2 separate regions of the Homo sapiens genome follow, and region 1 is linked to region 2. Evidence: promoter capture Hi-C in 16 types of primary human blood cells and fetal thymus (Javierre and others, 2016). All regions are on one chromosome and are shown on one strand. The core of a region is centred on a gene start or on the middle of the fragment in contact, and the rest is flanking DNA. Distances in the headings are between cores, read along the strand shown.

Region 1 (2,807 bases), core at 117-2,616, 740 kb before region 2:
ACTTCATTCCAGCCTGGGCGACAGAGCAAGACTCTGTCTCAAAACAAGTTATATTTCTATATTAGGACTCCATTTTCTGGCAATACGGTGGACCGTCTAAAGTGAAAATCACCGGGGCAGTGGCTCGTGCCTGTGATCTCAGCACTTGGGAAAGTCAAGGTGGACAGGTCACTTGACCCCAGGAGTTCAAGACCAGCCTGGGCAACACGGTGAGACCCTGTCTGTACCAAATACATATATATATTAGCTGGGCGTGGTGGCACGTGCCTGTAGGACCAGGTACTTGGGAGGCTGAGGTGGGAGAATCCCTTGAGCCCAGGAGTTTGAGGCTACAGTGAGCCATGGTCGTGCCACTGCGCACCAGCCTGGGTGACAGTGAGACCCTCTCTCAATAGAAATGAAGTGAAAACCCACTGAAAACAACTGGACATGACGGACAACAACCGCTGACATCCTTTTAGATACATAATTCAGCTCTCAGGAAAATAAGTATCCAGGTGCCAGCTATGTAGAAGGTACTGAAAAACAAAGTCTGTGAGTTGATGCTGTAGCTGTTCTATGGGTTTTTGTTTACTTGGAACTTGAATGTTAAATGGTATAGAAGGGTAAGAAACAAGAACTTGGGGGCTACACAAGACAGAACTGGCCTTGAAATAACTCAGATGCGCAGAACTTTCCACAGGCTGTACATCAAGGGAGACGGCAGACTGGAGACAGAAAGCTTGCCTGTCTGTCCTTGGGCTCTGGGTAGGGCAAGATTTTACCTGGATGAGTCCATGTGCACTGGCCTGCATGTCATCTAAGTTAGAATTTGAACTTGCCCTACTCATGTTCCAATTGAGAAACTGAACAATCAGGCCGGGTGCAGTGGCTGTAATCCCAGCATTCTGGGAGGCTGAGGAGGGTGAATCACCCGAGGTCAAGAGTTTGAGACCAGCCTGCCCAACATGGTGAAACCCCATCTCTACTACAAATACAAAAAGCTGGGCGTGATGGCAGACGCCTGTAGTCCCAGCTACTCGGGAGGCTGAGGCAGGAGACTTCGCTCGAACCTGGGAGGCAGAGGTTGCAGTGAGCCGAGATCGCACCACTGCACTCCGGTTTGGGCAACAAGCAAAACTCTTGTTAAGAAAAAAAGGTAGACACAGCATGAGTCCACTTATATAAGGTACCTAGAATAGTCAAACTGATAAGAGACAGAAAAAAAGTAAAACGTTGGTTATCAGAGCTTGGGGGTAAGGGGGATGGAGAGTGAGGGTTAATGGGGACAGTTTCAGTTTGGGAAGATGGAAAAGTGCTGGAGATGGATGATGGTGATGGTTGTACAATATTTTGTTTTTCTCTTTTTTTTTTTTTTGAGATGGAGTCTCGCTCTGTCGCCCCAACTGGAGTGCAGTGGTGCAATCTCGGCTCACCGCAACCTCCACTTCCCGGGTTCAAGAAATTCTCCTGCCTCAGCCTCCTGAGTAGCTGGGATTATAGGTGCACACCACCATGTCCAGCTAATTTTTGTATTTTTAGTAGAGATGGGGTTTTGCCACGTTGGCCAGGCTGGTCTTGAACTCCTGACCTCCTGCCCGCCTTGGCCTCCCAAAGTGCTGGTGTTATAGGCGTGAGCCACCATGCCCAGCCTGGTTGCACAATATTTTTGATGTAATAAATGCCACTGAATTGTACCCTCAAAAATAGCGAAAATGGCAAATTTTATGTTACGCATATTTTACCACAATTAAAAAAAAAAAAGTGTAGGATCCACTCCCAGCTGGTGCTCTGGCCCTGCCCTGGCCCCACAGTGGAGGAAGGTGCTTCTCTCCCATTAACGTGGACACGCCTTGACCAGGACTTTGAGCGTGTGGTTTTTCCCTTCCCTAGCCCGGGCCTCGGACCTTCTATGACAATCCGCTTTCCTCTTATATGTGATTTTACTTTCCCAGACTGGAACATTTGCTTTCTGTTCACTTTACTGAACAACACTTAGACATCCAACCTCTCTCTGTCCTCTCTCTTCCCTGAAGCTTCCTTGGCACACAACACACCTAGGCAAGCCTGGGTGGGTACAGGAGTGGTTCACTGCATCCCTGGAACAGGCTCAGGGGTTTTCGGGCATAAAGGCCTCCTCCCTGGCTTGATGGTCAACCTGTGCCCAGTGTCACATCCATCAAATGACTTTGTATTTCACAGCTTCTCTTCCACCCCCACTCTCTTGGGAGAGGTCAGGCCCTTCCAGCCCAGAGTGGGGGTCAGTGTGGACCTGGGATTTGATGTATACTCTAAGCTTGGGGAAAAAAAATGGTTAAAAAGTCCCCCAAGGGCAGCAGGAAATCGGGCTCTGGTCCCAGATGCATTTGTGATGAAAGGGATTAGACTCTGCAGCTCCTGTTAAAATCAACCACCGCGTCCATGGGTTGATCCAAGAATTCTGTGCAAAGTCTGTAAAACTCCGTCCTTGGTCTTGCTTGCTTTAATGACAGTCTTTCACATTTTTGTCCTAACATGTTTCTTCTCAGCCTGATTTTTTTAACAAACTGGCAACTTTGAAATGTAAAACAGTGAAATCTAGAATTTTCTCCCAGAGAAAACTTTTCCAGAGAGAACACACACACACACACACGCCCATCAATTGAGAACCATATGCTAAGAGCAACTATGTTTACTTTACAAAAGAATAATGTCTTGGCTGGGCACGGTGGTTCACGCCTGTAATCCCAGCACTTTGGGAGGCCGAGACAGGCAGATCACTTGAGCTCAGGAGTTTGAGACCAGCCTGCGCAACATGGTGAAACCCTGTCTCTACAAAAAAAATTAGC
Region 2 (2,836 bases), core at 216-2,715:
GTTCACTCTCATGGATGTCACAGTCCAGCTGCCTAAAGCACTACCTTTTCTCTGCTCCTAGTACCTGTTCCTGACTTTTCCACGGATTGTCTTCATGCTGGGCTTTGTCGTGGTTCTGAGCTTCCTCCTGGGTGGCTACCTGTTGTTTGTCCTGTATCTGGCGGCCACCAACCAGACTACTAACGAGTGGTACAGAGGTGACTGGGCCTGGTGCCAGCGTTGTCCCCTTGTGGCCTGGCCTCCGTCAGCAGAGCCCCAAGTCCACCGGAACATTCACTCCCATGGGCTTCGGAGCAACCTTCAAGAGATCTTTCTACCTGCCTTTCCATGTCATGAGAGGAAGAAACAAGAATGACAAGTGTATGACTGCCTTTGAGCTGTAGTTCCCGTTTATTTACACATGTGGATCCTCGTTTTCCAAGCATGGCTTGTTTGTTTTGATTTCTGCTGTGCTTATAAATCACTTTCGGTGGGCAAGGGAGAGAGGGGAAAATGGGTGTTGACTGAGGAATCCCCCTTGCTTGTCTTCTTTTGAAACCGGGCATCTCTGAAGTCCTGGTGTCAAGGGGATCAAGAGATGACTTCTCAGAGGTTCTAGGTGATGCTGAGACCTTGGTGTCTCTAAACTCTGGGCATGTGGACAGGAGGGGCTTGCGGCCGTGTCTCTGACCTGTGTGATGTGCAGGAGGGTCTCATTGACTCAGCGCCTGCGCGTTGTGCCTGGCTGTGCTCTCTTTTATGCCCCCTCTATTCTCCTCTCTCCCCCAGGGGATTTTCATCTCAACAACAGAGTGTCCTCACCCAGGCCTGCCTTCCGGCCAGTATGGGCTTGTACATCAGGCACCTTCCTGCATGTGTGGCCTCCGGCCTGCCCTCCTCTAGCCACATTCAAGTCCTTTCTCACCAGTTTAAAAATTGTGAAAGTGAACTGCCACCTATTTCAGAGGAGACATGACTGCCAGAAACGAGGTCTTGGTGCGGAAGGTCTTTGGAGTGGGAGGGCTCTCAGGTGCAGGTGGCAGGTGTTCTGCACCTTGCTAGGCCAAGGAGCCCGCAGTCAGAGAGGCTGGGAAGTGGGAGTCAGGGGCAGGGGGCCTTCCAGCCATCTTCCCCCGTACCCCCCAGCTGAGAACAGATGGAAACGTGAAGACGGGTAGCTGGGGCGGCCAGGGAACCCAAGTCCGCTGGCCGAAGCCAAAGCCCGGCACCACCCCCAATTCTTGCTGGTGGAAAGCACCGTGAAATCAACCAGCGGCAGCTCTGAACGCGACGCACAGCCCGCGAGGGAGCCTGGGCAAGGACGGAGCGGGCCTGCACCGGCGGTTGGGCGGGCTCCGGGGGCGGGGTCCACCTGGGACCGCGGCGCGCCCCTCACCGCTCGCGCCGCCAGGGGGCGCCCTCCGGAGAGCGCGCCTAGGCCGCGGCCTGCGCTTGGCCCCTGCGGGCCGCCGTCTCCGTGCCCGGCATTCGGCCGCTGTTCGGCTGCGCGGCGGCAGCTCCCGGCGGCTCCTGGCGGCGCCGCAGTCGGACCTTCGGGCGCCTGCTGGCCGGCGGCAGCAGCGATGGCCCCCTGAGCAGGCAGGGAGCAGGCGGCGGCAGGCGGGCAAGCGGGCGGGTGCCGCAGCCCAGGCCCGGGTCGCGCCTCTTTGTTTCCACGGGTAGCGGCGCAGTCCCGGGCCCCGGGCGGAAGTGAGACGCGCTCGGCGCGGGGGCCGCGGCGGCCGCACCATGAGCGACATCCGCCACTCGCTGCTGCGCCGCGATGCGCTGAGCGCCGCCAAGGAGGTGTTGTACCACCTGGACATCTACTTCAGCAGCCAGCTGCAGAGCGCGCCGCTGCCCATCGTGGACAAGGGCCCCGTGGAGCTGCTGGAGGAGTTCGTGTTCCAGGTGCCCAAGGAGCGCAGCGCGCAGCCCAAGGTGCGGCCTGAGACGGTCGGGTTCCCGGGCCCCGCAGGCGGGCGGGCGGGCCTTTTCCCCAGCGATGCAGGGCTGTGTCAAGCCGCGGGCGCCCCATGTCCAGGATCCCCGCGCTCGCGCTCGGCCTCGCTCCTGCAGCAGCCCCCAAACCCTTCTCCGGGTCCTGCAGTGTTGCTCAGCTGCCTGTCCAGTCTGCGGGGCGTGTGACAGCCGAGTCTTGGTGTTAAAGGGACAAACTGGCGACTGCCCGCTCCCTAGAGGTCTGTTGGGCTGTTACCGAAAGGCTCATCCTGAACCCTCCAGGAGGATGTATAATGATCTGTATGGCTTTCTTCTTACATCTTTTTCTTTTTTTTTTCTTTCTCTGCCTTTTTTTTTTTCGAGACAAGGTTTCACTACGTTGCCCAGGCAGGAGTGCAGTGGTGCAATCACAGCTCACTACAACCTTGAACTCCTGGGCTCAAGTAATCCTCCCGCCTCATCCTTCTGAGTAGCTGGGACTCCAGGCGTGCACCACCATGCCCAGCTAATTTTTGAATGTTTTGTAGAGATGGGGCCTCCCTGTGTTACCCAGGCTGGTCTCAAACTCCTGGGCTCAAGATTCTCTCTCCTTGGCCTCCAAAGTGTTGGAATTACAGGCGTGAGCCACAACGCCTGGCCTATATGACTTTTTTCTAAGATCAACAGCAAAGATCTCCCTGAGACCTGAGCTTTACGAAGGGCGAAAAGTTCTACGGGAACTTTACGAAGGGCGAAAAGTTCTACGGGAAAATACTGTTATTTCCTGTTTTTCTTTTTTTTTTTTTTTTTGAGACGGAGTCTCACTCTGTCACCAGGCTGGAGTGCAGTGGTGCGATCTCGGCTCACTGCAACCTCCGCCTCCCAGGTTCAAGCGAGATTCCTGCCTAAGCCTCCC

What was found. The method cuts DNA at HindIII sites, captures the fragments that hold promoters and counts their contacts. A CHiCAGO score of 5 or more calls a contact.
Region 1: a contact is called between a fragment that was not itself captured here and the fragment with the promoter of INTS15 in region 2, in 1 of 17 cell types (erythroblasts). The highest score is 5.0, in erythroblasts.

Annotation. Positions count from the first base shown.
Region 1 is chr7:5,849,308-5,852,114 of GRCh38, forward strand. It overlaps the pseudogene ZNF815P. Among named protein-coding and RNA genes, the nearest start is that of OCM, 30 kb to the right of the region's middle. The HindIII fragment of the contact is 1,294 bases long and covers 720-2,013 here.
Region 2 is chr7:6,588,556-6,591,391 of GRCh38, forward strand. INTS15 (integrator complex subunit 15) reads left to right here and starts at 1,466. Exons shown (of 6, transcript NM_024067.4): 1 at 1,466-1,920. The coding sequence starts at 1,729. It overlaps ZDHHC4 (zDHHC palmitoyltransferase 4), which reads left to right. Exons shown (of 8, transcript NM_001134389.2): 8 at 62-819. The coding sequence ends at 355. It overlaps LOC124901582 (a long non-coding RNA gene), which reads right to left and starts at 1,349. Exons shown (of 2, transcript XR_007060201.1): 1 at 905-1,349; 2 at 368-670. RefSeq lists enhancers at 608-1,446, 1,071-1,220 and a silencer at 1,291-1,790. The HindIII fragment of the contact is 9,756 bases long and covers 1-2,836 here.